Regions from separate parts of the Homo sapiens genome. Here region 1 is linked to region 2. Evidence: promoter capture Hi-C in 16 types of primary human blood cells and fetal thymus (Javierre and others, 2016). All regions are on one chromosome and are shown on one strand. Each heading gives the region's core, a stretch centred on a gene start or on the middle of the fragment in contact. The rest is flanking DNA. Distances are from core to core; before and after follow the strand shown. Region 1 holds the start of TRD-AS1 (TRD antisense RNA 1). Region 2 holds the start of AJUBA (ajuba LIM protein).

Evidence for each region. Contacts are between HindIII fragments. The CHiCAGO score rates a contact against its expected background, and 5 or more counts as called.
Region 1: a fragment that was not itself captured here is called in contact with the fragment with the promoter of AJUBA in region 2 in 1 of 17 cell types (naive B cells); the score reaches 5.2 in naive B cells.

Annotation. Positions count from the first base shown.
Region 1 is chr14:22,477,865-22,484,957 of GRCh38, forward strand. TRD-AS1 (TRD antisense RNA 1) reads right to left here and starts at 5,095. Exons shown (of 5, transcript NR_148361.1): 1 at 4,989-5,095; 2 at 3,377-3,494. It also overlaps TRA, TRAJ57, TRAJ56, the pseudogene TRAJ55, TRAJ54 and TRAJ53. RefSeq lists a silencer at 6,969-7,018. The HindIII fragment of the contact is 664 bases long and covers 2,496-3,159 here.
Region 2 is chr14:22,979,753-22,986,233 of GRCh38, forward strand. AJUBA (ajuba LIM protein) reads right to left here and starts at 2,799. Exons shown (of 8, transcript NM_032876.6): 1 at 1,509-2,799. The coding sequence starts at 2,514. It overlaps C14orf93 (chromosome 14 open reading frame 93), which reads right to left. Exons shown (of 7, transcript NM_021944.4): 7 at 6,142-6,481. AJUBA-DT (AJUBA divergent transcript) reads left to right here and starts at 4,572. Exons shown (of 3, transcript XR_007064074.1): 1 at 4,572-5,068. RefSeq lists enhancers at 1,848-2,813, 2,814-3,779. The HindIII fragment of the contact is 4,726 bases long and covers 1-3,475 here.

The sequences.
Region 1 (7,093 bases), core at 1,578-4,077, 500 kb before region 2:
AAGTCCTGCTTGGCTAAACAATGCTCACGGATGTGCACGTGTGCAGTGGGATGCAGCTTTTTCTAACCTCTCACAAAATCACGCAACCCCTTCACCAAACTGCTTGGTGGCTCTTCTGTGCCCTCACAGCCCTTCTAGTTTAGCAGTTAGAGGAAGACAAGTGCCCAAGGGCTTTCTCATTTTTAGGTCATTGTGGAAAGAGGAACGTTGGTGATATGTTTGCCTGCTTGGGAGGAAAATAATAATGATGATTTACTCATTGGTTTCTATATGCTAGTTGATGTGCTGCATTCTTTCTCTTATCACATTTAATCCTTATACCAGGTCTGTGAGTTAGGTGCTATTATTATCCTCATTTTATAGAAGAGATATATTTATATTTTATATTTCTATAGAAGCACAGAGATGTTGAATAACTTGTTCAAGCCGATGAAGTAAGAAAGAGAACCTGGAGTTTAATTCTTGGCACTCAGATTCCAGAGCTAAAAGCTTTTCAGTGAGGGGATTATGTCTAGAGGGAATGTCCCTGATGCTCTAGTCTCTAAGGTTGCTAAGATAATCGCTAAAGAACTGCGCTCTCAGCAAGTAAAGCCAGGGGTTGGTCAACAGGACCACGGTGACCCAGTTACATATTCTTAATCCTTACAACATCATCAAGCAGTTGCTGTTTTCCCCACTTTACAAGTGAGGAAACTGAGGTGTAGCAAGTTAGGAAACTTGTCCTGAGTTTTAAACTCAAGCCTACCTGCCCCAAAGCCTGAGCTCTTTTAAATTAACTGCAACTGCTGACCAGTTAGATTAACTAATTACTTAATTAATAAGATAACAACCTAACAGGCTGTAAGGTAAAAAAGTAATCAGATTTGTTCTATAGGTCCCCTCCCTTTTCGGGAATAGCTATACAATTGTATAATTTTATGCTTCCCCTGGGAGAGTGGGTGGAGCCCTGGCTCCCAGCCCATGATGGAAGGGTCTTGGCAGTATTTGTAAAGCAGTCTGTGGGGGTGTAACTCAGGGCGGATCTGAAAAGCTGGTCTTTGGAAAGGGAACGAAACTGACAGTAAACCCATGTAAGTCTGAATAATGCTTCCAAATTTCTCCCTGGAACCCTGATTTCCAAATTTTCCATTCTGTTTTATAACCCAGGTCCAAACCACAGCAGTCCCATTAATGGATTCCAGTGCAAAACAACTGCTGGTGTATTCCTACTACACGCAGGTCTCTGTTGTTTGCCCTCATGTGCTATTTTATCTAATAGCTGAGAATGACAGTACCAATGGAGCACTGAGTTAAGGAGTCAGACTGTTCGAAGGCTTCATTCTTCGTTATAATTGGTGAGATTTTCCATGGGACTAAGAGAAAATTGATTAACTCTCTGAGCCTCTATTTTCCTCCTCTGTAGAATGGGGGAGGCAGTTCCTGTTCCCATTTTACCACAGCCGGCGTGCTGTGAGGGGATGTTGGTACATTTCCAATAAGGGGACAATGAGTGTGAAGAGAAAGGAAGGCCCCAGGTGGTCCGTAAACTCTTCCACCAGTCCCACACTATAAACAGCTGGTTTTATCAGGGGGATTCTTGGATGACAAGTAAGCACTTAAGTAAATATCAAGGGGAGTCTGGGCAACTGAGTTTTTGTAGATCCTCGTGTCATTGTGTTATACTGGAGCCAATAGTAAGCTGACATTTGGAAAAGGAATAACTCTGAGTGTTAGACCAGGTATGTTTTAATGAATGTTATTTGTTTCCAAACATAAGCCACCATCCTTAGAAATTCAGTGAAAGATAACCGAATCTCCTGCCCAGTTATTAGCATCTTTCACCATGGGTCTTTCTGGAGAAAATGACAATGTGGGCAGCCCCTGACTGCAGCCCCTTTGGGACTGTTTCTTTAACACCTTTAAGTACTTGGGAATGTTCAGTGTGTTTTTGTTAATGTTGGAGATATGTGTCTGACAAATGGAATCTGAATTGAAGTTTTAGTGTGTAGGGGCAGAAAGCATTTAGAAAGGACAAAAGAAGGACAGATTAGACTAAAATACATACCAATGGCTGGGAGTATGCAATGCAACCCAATCCAAAAGGAAACAGTGAGATGTAGCCTGCTGATTAAACAACTGAGCCAGCACTCCGTGTCAGCTGACTTGTCTTCCCAAAGCTTCCATGTTGGTGCAATTAGGAAAAGAATTGTCTAATCCCCATAACTCAAAATCTTGGAGCCAAGCTAAATTGGGTAAAGCCGTGTAAGATTTTCTGGTACTGACACTGACTACAAGCTGATATTTAGGGAAAAGTTAAGATTGAAAGCAAATATTCAAATTAGTCAGAAAGACCACGAACTTCTGAAAACAAGCCCCAGGGTGCTGTTAACTGCTGCATTTCTAATTGGGTCCTCATGGAACATTTTCATCTCTGCCTTGTCTGAGCTTTCTGCACCAGAGAAGCCCCTTTTGATACCCACTCACTTCTGAGTCCCTCATTGAAAAGGTGGCAACTAAGCTTAGAGAAGGATTCCCTAATCCAAATGCAATACTTGGGGGAATATTTTGAGTATTGCTCCACCATTCTCAAAACAAACCTAATTTCAGTTAACTTGAATGTAGCTGAAATTTTGTTCCATGAGGGAATCTCTGCTTTCTATGATAATGCAAGCTCATTTCAAACAATTGTTTGGGATTTAACTTTTGCTCATAATTCCCAAAAGATACCAACTATTCAATGAGTATCTTAAAATAAAACTACTTTTATGACCAAATTATTATCCCCATTAGAATGGCTAGAATCAGAATGTCCTAGTATGTATTATGTGAACCCCATGCGACCTTCCTAAAGTTTCTTATGCCTAAAACAGCATAAGAGAGAAAAGCATTTCCACGCTAACCTGTGTGTTCACTGGTTAACAAAGGTCTAAAGAGCAGGTGAGTCAGCTGCTCCATTTCCAAACTGGACTGGACATTTACAGTCCTGCAGATACTAAAAATGATAATCAGGAAAAGCACACACAATTCTACTTTTTCTTATAATTCCCATCTTTCCCAAAGAACTGTTATAAATTCTCTCCCAAAGGTGTTATATTCATCCTTCTTTTGTTGCCTCTATTTGTGATGTGTACTGAGGTGAAATATTTGTTGAGATTCAAAAACCCCATGAGATTTAACTTAAGCTTTCCCTGTCAGAGAGATTCTAAGAGCTAAAAGATGGGAAGCTGGTATTTGGGAACTAGATTAAAAAGAAAATCCAAATTAATCCCAAGGAGCAAGGCTCAATAGATAGTTATTTAGACATAACATGTCCACCCTGCAAGCCTAGTTGCTCAGTTGACTGGGCTGCCCCTATCTTAGTCTTGCCTGGAAGAGAAATAAGTTGTTTGCCCCATACCTGTCTTGAGAAATGTCAGCCTCCAGACCTGAAAGCTTCTTGTGATTTGGTTTATTTCTGTAGAGTTTATTATTATACACAGTGTTCTTGAAGTAATAGAGAAGTGCATTAGAAGCTCCTGCAAATGGAAATGAAATGTAAATTTAGATTGTAAATACATGACTGCGGTAAATAGATAGCAAGAAAAAGGATGAAGAGATTAGAAATTTGCCACATTTCTCTAACCCTAAAGGGATGTTTCTATAAATAGTTTAAAACTGTTGAAGACGAAGGGGGAGGAGGAAGGAGAACAGAGGCAAACAGATTTTCTCCTAATCCTTTCCATTTGGCAAAATTAGAAATGGTTTTTCAATTAAATTTCCCTGAGCAGAGGAAGAAACCATGTCTGTTTCCACACTAAAATTCCTGTGGGTGGGAGTCTCTAGAGTTGATTTGGAGGATGGATCCCTGTTAGTGACAAGTGCTGGTAATGCTCCTGTTGGGGAAAGGGGATGAGTACAAAAATAAATCCAAGTAAGTGTGGAGGGACAAGAAGATCTCACAGTGCAGGATTTCCCCTGGATTTTCTGCATTGCCTTTTCACCTTTCCTGTCTTAGCACGACAAATTAGGTCCCAGATGAGCAGGCCCTCGCATTCAAACCGGAAATTTTAAGGAGGAAGCCAGATTAACTTTACTCGGGAGACCTAGTAGACTCTGACTTTAAAGATTCTTTTAATCCAGCTGTTTTTAGGGAGAGCTCTGTAAAAGATGAAAGAAATGTTTTAAAAAAAAATTAAAATTCTGTGGGGTGAAAACAAAGATGTTAAATATTTGATTGGCAAGGCAACTGGAAAATCTGGACCATGTCTACAACTGCTAAAGGAGGCTTTGTGAAAGAGAAAATGAGCAGCCCAAGGAGATCCTGTCCTAAACTTCTCTGGCCAGTGAAATTCGGGCCATTCTCTGCCACAGCCCTGGACTGCTAGGAGGGCAGATCATATGTCTTCCTCAGTGGGGAGAGGTGGGCCCTCGCTGGCAGTTTCTGTAAAGCCTCGTGCTGTGGTGTAATTCAGGGAGCCCAGAAGCTGGTATTTGGCCAAGGAACCAGGCTGACTATCAACCCAAGTAAGTATGACAGGGTGAAGCTACATGCAGCTGAGTACAGTCTTTTCCTTTCTAGACCGTGTCCTGCAAGCTCTCCTTGAGGGACGTATACTCATTTTGCATTGTCCTTTGTAGAGAAGCAGACCAGGAAAGACAGGAAAGCCCTCAAATTTCCACTTTTAAACACCTCCCTGTAAAAACTGTCTCGCTTCCCTCCCCTTCTACAATCAGTTTCTAGTAAATCAGAATCCGGTGAATTGATATGCAATTTCAACGAAAAAAAAAGCAGAGAAATAGTTACCCCAACAAGTGCAAAAAGTAGAAACTATCTGAGTACCAGCCAAGGGAAGATAATTAGGAAAGAAAAAAAAAGAAAGAAATGGATTACTGGAACCATGATGGCAGCTTAGTCACAAAGAAAATGATAAAAAAAAATTAAAATTAAATTTCAAAAACTTTAAAGATATATACATATATATATATCTATATATATATGATATATTGTCCTCTGGAACTCCAGCACTCACCTACAGCAGCTGCATTCTGGACTTATTATCAAATAACCTATAAACCTGTAGCTTAATGAAGAGTTGAGCAATCGTGACTATATTGACCCCCAGGACCCTTCTGCAAAGAGCAGCTTCTGTTCCTGTTTCTGTAAAGCCTTCTGTGGCTGTGAGAATAGTGGAGGTAGCAACTATAAACTGACATTTGGAAAAGGAACTCTCTTAACCGTGAATCCAAGTAAGTTTGAAGGGAGTGGGGGAAGGGGGAATTCAAACACTTCTGATTTAATTACTTGCCCCTCCAAAACATTCCAGCTTAGGTTCCAAATCTAATGTTTGTGCTGGGGGGATATGGTGCCCATCAGAGGGATTAGAACTCCACTGTACAAAGACTAAATTACTTTCAGCCCAAAACATTCCTATCATTCATCTTAAACAAGATTATTGGTGCAAGGAGAAAAACTGAATACAGAATCCTGAGGGATCCAGCTAAGGGTCAGGAAATGTTTGCCGAAAAGATAAAGAGGAAATTGGCATATCGTGACTACGCAAATGCAGTAGACCAAATATAAATTGTCCTGACTTAGATACTAACACTCCTCTTAAATTTATCGCCTGAAATAATGGAACCCTGCAACTTCATTAACTAATGCTGAAAATTCTATAAGCAGGCTCCTTTTCTTCTTTTACCTTCACTTTACCTCTCTGAAAAGAACTGTTCTCAATCCCCAGTCTGGTAACTGAGGTCCAGTCAGTTAACTGTCTGGTTAACTCAGGCAGAGCATTTAACCCCACTTTTTCTTTGGTTACCAAAATAGTGGATTCAGCCTCCACTTTACTTAGTTCACCTGAGAAGGGGAAAATTCATCTGTCCTCTGAGTCGTGAGAATAGAGCAGTACATTCTCTCCTTCAAATATACACCCACCCTTCCCTAATGGTAATGTGTGAGTACTTAGAAAAGTTTTTAAATGTTAGATATAAAAGTAAGGCACAGTGGTTGCTAATGGCACTTCTTGAAAATCTGCGCTGCTGGTGGACTTCTGAAAGTGGTGCTTATAAACTAAGGCTGGAGAAGACTGACTTGTAAAATTCAGATAAAATGAAAATGGGAAAAACTTATCAAAGGGCCCCGGTCTCCTAAGTGCCCTGATGTTGAGTAAAGGCCAAATGCCCCAGTTTTACTTACTCAGATCTGCTTTCTGTGATTAAGAAGAGATGCACACTAGAGAGAGGCACTTTGAAAAACACAGCCCAGGCAAAATTCTTAAAAAGACTGGCTCTGGTGGCGGGGCGGGTGGTGAAGGACTCAGGGACACCGTGCATGCAGCATTGAGGGAGTTAATGCAGACTTGCTAGCAGACAGCTTGGAACGTTCTGGGATAGGCCCTGCCTGAAGAACATGCAGTGTGGTTAGCCATCAAGTTCCCATGTGCAGAAGTGCCTTGCTCAGCAGGGGCAAAATCAGCACGTCTGTGGCAACAGCAACAATGAATAATATATGATGTTAAATCCCAGGGGTTCAGCAGTCTCCACTGAGGTCTTATCAAATTAAAGCTTCAAGGGGATTCATATGAACATCCCAGGAGACTCAAGGACTCAGTCGCTTTTCAGAGGGTGGGCAGCCAATGCTAGGGACCAGACAGTAGGCTTTTTTCTTTGGTTTCTTACCGGAAGCACACTAGGGCGGGGCTCTGCGGTGGGTTTTCCAGAATGCAGAGAAGCTGGGAGCCCCTCTCAGCACTTGGTCAGCCTCTTAGGGGACTGAGAACTGTAACAACTCCTACCTTTTAAAACATTGACGAGGTCAGGGTGTTTGACAGCCTAACCAGGCAAAGAAAATATCTGTGCAAGGCTAGCATTCTTCCAGAGCTCTGGACAGTAATCGTATGCCAGATTTTCCATGCAGTGGATTCTAGCTGCAGGAACTATATGGCAAGGCTGGAGTCCAAGGAACCCATGATTAAATTCTGTTTTCCTGCAGTAAGTGGAACACAGAGATTATTGCCACAGCAACACTTTGGGTGCCTGTCTGTTTGAGGACCTCAGCTGAGGGCAGGCATCTGGTTTTGCTTATGTCCTGCGGAGGCTGAAGAGAGGGTGGGAAGCCCTTTAGACAGTGAATACT
Region 2 (6,481 bases), core at 1,549-4,048:
CCTCCTCTAACCCAGCATATCTATACCTATGTTCTTCCTGCCATTTTATTGCAGTTTCTCTGAGTTCCTTTCTTCCTTTTGGCTCTGATGGTTCAGCCAAAAAGACTTCTTTACTAGCCACCTCTCCTGGGCCTCAAAATGAAACTGCTAAATGGGCCCTGTCATTCAGTCTTCCTTGATCAAAGCGGTTTGGCATCATCTCCTCTGGGCTTTCCTCTCGGTGGATTTGGAGGTGGGGAAAAGAATGGGGGTGGAGGCTGGGGGTTGAGTTATGCCCTTATAGCCTGCCGCCCTGCTACCTCTGAACCTCCTACCCAACCATCCCTCCCTGGCCGCGTTCCTCTTCCTATTCACTTTTCTAGCCATAGAGTTCTACAGCATGGGGTCCAGGAGTGGGGCATGAGTGGTAAGAAGAGATGCTTAGAAAAGTGAAAGAGGCCCACAGCCCTTAGGCGGTAAGCCTGCCACTTCTTTCCAATCACAATCAGATTCGAAGTTTTTTATGTGTGTAGCAGTGCCTGTGAATTTTGACTAAAAGATCTTTCAAGACCCTAATGTTCCTCATAGCTGAGACATATAATCAATCAATACTTCCTGAACAGAGTAGGGGAGGGAGACAGCGACCAGGTTTCCTTAACAGTGTCAGGAAGTAAGGCGCTACTTCTGGCCTGAATTCTGAGAGGTTATAAGCAGAATTCAAGGCCAAGTTATTTCTGGCAATAACACAGGGTCGTTATCCATCCAGAGGTAATGGTGTCCCAGTAGTCATGACTTTTACCCTGACTTCCGGAGGATGGGGAAAATAGAAGCTGGTACTACTGGGTCTCTGATTAAATGCCCACGCACGCACCTAGCCAACAGGACTGGGGAGGGACAGCAGTTGGGTCCCAGGGCGCTCCATCCTGTCTCCCAGGCTCCATTTCCCCGACAGCCGCCACTACTCCGCGTATGCTAGGGAGCGTCCCCCGATCCCCGAACCCCACCCCTCCGCCGCGCGGCGGCAGCCGCCCCGCCCGCGGGCACCTGGAGCGCCCGGGCAGGAGTCGGCACGCACGCGGCCAGCCTGCCCCGCCCCCCCACCCGCGCATTCTCCGAATTCCTGCGGGCGGAGCCTGGGCCCGGGTGGGGGCGCGGCGCGCACAAACCTCCAGGGGCACCGCCGTGAAAGGGGGGAGCAAGTTGGGGGGGATGCGCCTTCACTGCCCCACTTGGTCCCTTCCCTACGAGGCCTCCTGCCGCAAAAAACCGAGGTTCAAATGCTTGAGAAACGGACTCACGAGATACCAGGGGGGTTGAATTTAGCAGAAATAAGGAGCCCTGGTTCATCTGAAAACTAGCAGGAAGGGGACAGTGCTCTGGGGCCGCCCCCATCCATCCCTCTTGCTTCTTTCCTAGTCCCGCGTCTTCACCTCGGACCCCGGGGCACCGGCACTTTGGGCCGTCGGGGCAGTGGAGAACCGAATACCGTGACGGGTCCCTTCCCGTCCCTAACCACTTCTCTCACTCACCGAAGTAGTCCTCCCTGGCCTCTGGCTCCCGCATCCGGGCCCGGGCGGCCTCCGGAACGAAAGGACCTGGTGGCTCCTCCAGACCCGACGGCTCAATCCCCGAGGGTTCTCCGCGGGCTCCGGCTTCTCGCCCACCGGTGCCCACCGTCAGGCGAAGCAAAGCTGTTAGCTCGTCCTGGTACCGGGCGCCCACGGCGCAGTCCCCGTAGCCGGTCACAGAGTGTCGTCCGGGTTGCGCCCCCCGTCTCTCCAAGGGCCCCGCCGCTCCCACTCCGGCCCCGGCTAGAGCTCCAGGGCTGCCCAGGGCCGGGGGATACGAGTGGCGGCTTTCCTGGCAGCCGAACCCCGCGGGCCGCTGAGCGTACAATCGGTCCAGGGCGGCGTGGAGCTCCGGGTAGGCGGACGGGACCCCTCCGGGAGAATAGCCTGCCGGTGCTCCGGCCAGGGGTGGGCCAAACAGGCACGGCCCCGCTGGCAAGGGGCTCCCGTGGCGCTGGTCGTAGCCCATGCTGATGCCGCTGGTGCGATTGCTGCAGGGCCGGCTACCTCCAGCTCCGCCAGCCCCCGCCCCGTCCAGCAGCAGGCTGCCCCGGGGGCTGGACGGCTTGCTCGCGTCGCTGGCCGAGCTACTGGCGAAGCTAGAGCGGGGGCTGAGGGCCGGGGCCGTGGGCTCCAGCCGAAAATCGGGGGGCAACGACTGAGGTAGAGGCAAGGCCCGGGTGGGCGGCGGCCCCGCGGGAAAAGAGCCTTCGTAGCGCGGCGCCTCAAAGGAGCCGCGCTGATTTCGCTCAGCGTCCAGGGAACCTTGCTCCCGGGCCGGCTCCAACGGCTCATCCCCAGGTCCCCCAGTAGCTCCTCGGGGCCCTGACTTCCTAGGTCCCCCCAACCCACTTAGGCGCCCCTTGCCCGGCCCGGGGGTCCCGTCAGACCCAGACCGGCTAGATTCACCCTTTCTGCGGCCGAACTTCTCCAGCAGGCGACTGGCTTTCTCTCCTAACCGCTCCATGCCCTCGGGCCTGGGGCCTCTCGCCCCCTCCCCGCCTGGCACCCTGCGGCGTCTCGGCGGCCGGTTCTCTTTCCCTGCAGCCGGACTCTGGTTCCCCAGGGGCACAGGGGAGGCACAGGGGCTTAGCGGGCGGCCTGGATGCCCTGCGCCAGGAATCCCACAGCATCCCCCAGCGGGAGGGGCTGCGTCCCCCCGCGCATCTGGGGCTGAGCGGGGCTAGCAGGGTCTCTGGCCGCGGCTGTCCAGTCCGCAGGTCTATCTGTTCACGCGTCGACTCGCCCGACTGCCCCACTCTCCCCGGCCCCCGCCCCCCTAGCTCTCACGCTAGCCACAGACCGAACTTCTCTCCCAAACTTTTGTCTGCCTGGCCGGATCTACTTTCCTAGGGGGGCGGAGCGCGGTGTGTGCGAGAGCGCCGGGGGTGTCCGCGCAGGGATAGCTGGTGTGCGTGCAGCGGAAGGCGCTAACTGCCCTGGATGTGGAGACCCGCGGACTGGACGTGAGAGGCGGGCAGGGGCAGTTGGGGCAGCTGCCCCTACAACACTGAAGAATTGGAATAGGAAAGAGTGTGGGGGTAGGGGACGGGGACTCTTTGTCTGCAGTTGGAATGCGCGGAGGGGCATGGTGGAATGTGTCGCGTCCCGGGACCGGACGACAGGAGGCATGTTCTGCGCTAGCACCGTGACTTTGTTCCCAGCGTGGGGACTGTGGGAGAGATGGAGAGAGACTGGTACAGAAATGGTGAGACAAGGAGAGAGCCATAAAGAGGAAGACAGAGAGAAAGAAGACAAATGCATAAAGAGGTTCAGAGACGTGTACGTAAAGATAGCCCTGAAAGGCGACGAAGCCCACAGAGAGAGGTGGAAGAGGGAAGAGGTAGCGAAAGAAAGGGAGAGCTGAGGAGCAAAGAGGAGTGTGGACGATGCAGAGACCGAAGGGTGCGCAGACAAAGGAAAGGACAAGCTTGTCCAGAGAGAATGAGAGACAAACAGATAAACTGCAATAAAAAGGCACCACCTTCTGGACCCAAAAGTTTTGTGATTTGTAAAAGCAGTGAAAAGGAGTCAGGAAAATGGGACTAATCTCTACTTTGAGAGGGAGGGAAAGAGATATAGTGTGTATGTAGAAGCAGTGAAAAGGAGTGAGGAAAAGGTTTGGGACTAATCTCTACCTTAAGGGTAGGACAGTTAGAGGGATAGACACCCCCTGGTGTTGGGAAATGAGATTTTTCTCATTTCAGGTGACTGTGGAGATCGAAGGCCTGGTTTTAGGGCTAGCGAACACCTTCTCCCTTTGGTTTTGGTCCACAGAAGACTGGTGATACAGAGTAAGTATTAAGAGGAAGAAAAGAAATGCCGTGTAGAGGAAATTGCAAATGAAAATGATCAGGATGGAAAAGAGGCTGATATTGACTATTTTAAAAGGATCAAGAATAAGGAAAAGAAACCCTGGCTGAAGCAGCCGGGCGCGGTGGCTCACGCCTGTAATCCCACCACTTTGGGAGGCTGAGGCGGGCGGATCACTTGAAGTCAAGAGTTCAGACCAGCCTGGCCAACATGGTGAAGCCCTATCTCTACTAAAAATACAAAAATTAGCCAGGCGTGGTGGCGCACGCCTATAGTCCCAGCCACTCGAGAGGCTGAGGCGGGAGAATCGCTTGAACCCGGGAGACAGAGGTTGCAGTGAGCCAATATCACGGCCACTGCACTCCAGCCTGGGCGACAGAGCAAGACTCCGTCTCAAAAAAATTCTCAAAAATAAATAATAATTTTTTTTAAAGAAACCCTAGATGAAGCTAAACATACCTAATTAAATACCAGCCAACGGCCGGGAGCGGTGGCTCACGCCTGTAATCCCAGCACTTTGGAAGGCAGAGGCGGCGGGATCACGAGGTCAGGAGTTTGCAACCAGCCTGGCCAGTATGGTGAAACCCCGTCTCTACTAAGAATACAAAAATTAGCCGGTGTGGTGGCGTGCACCTGTAGTCCCAGCTACTTGGGAGGCTGAGGCAGAAGAATCGCGTGAACCCAGGAGGCGGAGGTTGCAGAGAGCCGAGATTGTGCCATTGCACTCAGGCCTGGGCGATAGAGGGAGATTCCGTCTCAAAAAAATTTTTTAAAAACCAGCCAACTACTTTTGCCCAGACTAAAACATCAGGGGCAAGGGGTGGAGGAAGTAGAATGGAGAAGGAAAATGACTCCTTTGTATTTAGATAGTAAATGAGTATGAAAATTATATGCAAACAAGTCATGCATATTATTTTCATCTCAACATTTTGAACACCTTTTATAATCTTAGTGTAGCCTTAGGGAATGTGGAAAGAAACGAGGTTAATATCTTTTGGGAAATTAATTTGTGCCAAACTATTTGGCTTCTTCGTCCTAGTTGCATTGTCTCCCTGACCTCATCTCCCCTGAGAATCAGCCTCTGTTTCCCTGGTCAAGGCCACGGCTTTTCTCTGATCCTGAGGAGAGTTTCCTACCAGAGTGGAAGCAGGGAGGACTGAAAGCACTAGGAACAGAGGGGAGCTATCGGATTGCATCTAGAACCTGCTGTGAGCAACATCTTCAGAATTAACCATAATGTGTTCCCTCCTTTCCTGTGTCCAGATGAGGAAGGAGAACTTTGATTCTTCCTTCCAATTACATCCAAAATATCCACACAACTACTAATATTTGGAAGCTTTGATCCTTTGGGGTGAGGATGCGAGAGGAAATCTTATGAAATGTTGGGAGGCCATTAAAGGAGGCCCATGCAAGAGTTGGTGGTAGCAATGGGCACAACTGGGATGAACAGCCTGTGTTTTCAAGGGATAACTGGAAGCAGAGATGAGTGAAGGGGAAGAAGTAGAAGACGCATATGCTAATAGGGCATGCTCCAATAGTGCTCATGACCTCAGGTGGCCTCTCCACAGTCTAAACTGGAGCTGGGATCTCCAAAGGCCCTCTTCGTTCCCAAGACTTTAATTATAATCTGTATATGCAGGTGACTCCCTAATCCATATTTCCAGCCCAGTCTTTCTTGGAATTAAAAACTCAACTAACTACTAGCATCTCCAATGGCTGTCTCAGAAGCACCCAATATCCTAAACTGATCTCATCTTCTCTGCCTCATGAAACTGGCTCCTCTAACATTCTCTGAGTAAATGGCACAATCCTGTTAGCTGCTTAAACTAGAAATCTGAGCGTCAACCCTATGTCCTCCTTCTCCCTTAACCTCAAATCCAACCAAGTCCTATCAATCACCAAGTTCTATTAATTCTGCTTCCTAAACATCTTCCAAATCTGTCCTCCCCTCATCACCACTATATATGTCAAGTCACCGTCTTTCCTCTCCGAAACCAATGCAAAAGTCTCCTGGCCAAGGCTTGCTCCCTGCAATCCATCTTATACCCTGAGGTCAAGTGATTTTTTTCAGTACAGAAGCTTTACGACTTACAATGGAGTTATGTCTGAATAAACCCATCCATTATAAATTGAAAATATCGTAAGGCAGAAGTGCTTCTTCAACTTCACCATATTTTCAGCTTAAAATGGGTTTATCTGATATAACTGCATCATAAGGTGAGGAGCATACTGAATCATTTCGCACCATCGTAAAGTTGAAAAATCCTAAGTCGAACCATCGTTGAGTTGGGGACTGCCTGTAGGCAAAACCTGTCGTTTTATTTCCCTGCTAAAACAAACTTTCAATGATTTCTCACTGCCCTTGGGTTGAAGTCTGTACTCTGTATTATGAGGTCTGTCTCACTCTCCAGCCTCTCCTCTAGCATTATCCCTTCCCCAAAAGTCTGCAGTAGAACTGGACCTTGTCTGTACTCTCTCTTGCCCCTGGACTTTTGTACCTGCAGTTCCCTGTTTGGAACACTCTCTTAGCCTCCCCTTTCCTTCTGGTTAACTCTTCCCCAGTTTAGACATTACACCCTCTCAGAAGAAGCCTTTCCAGACTGCAAGAGTAGGTTAGCTAC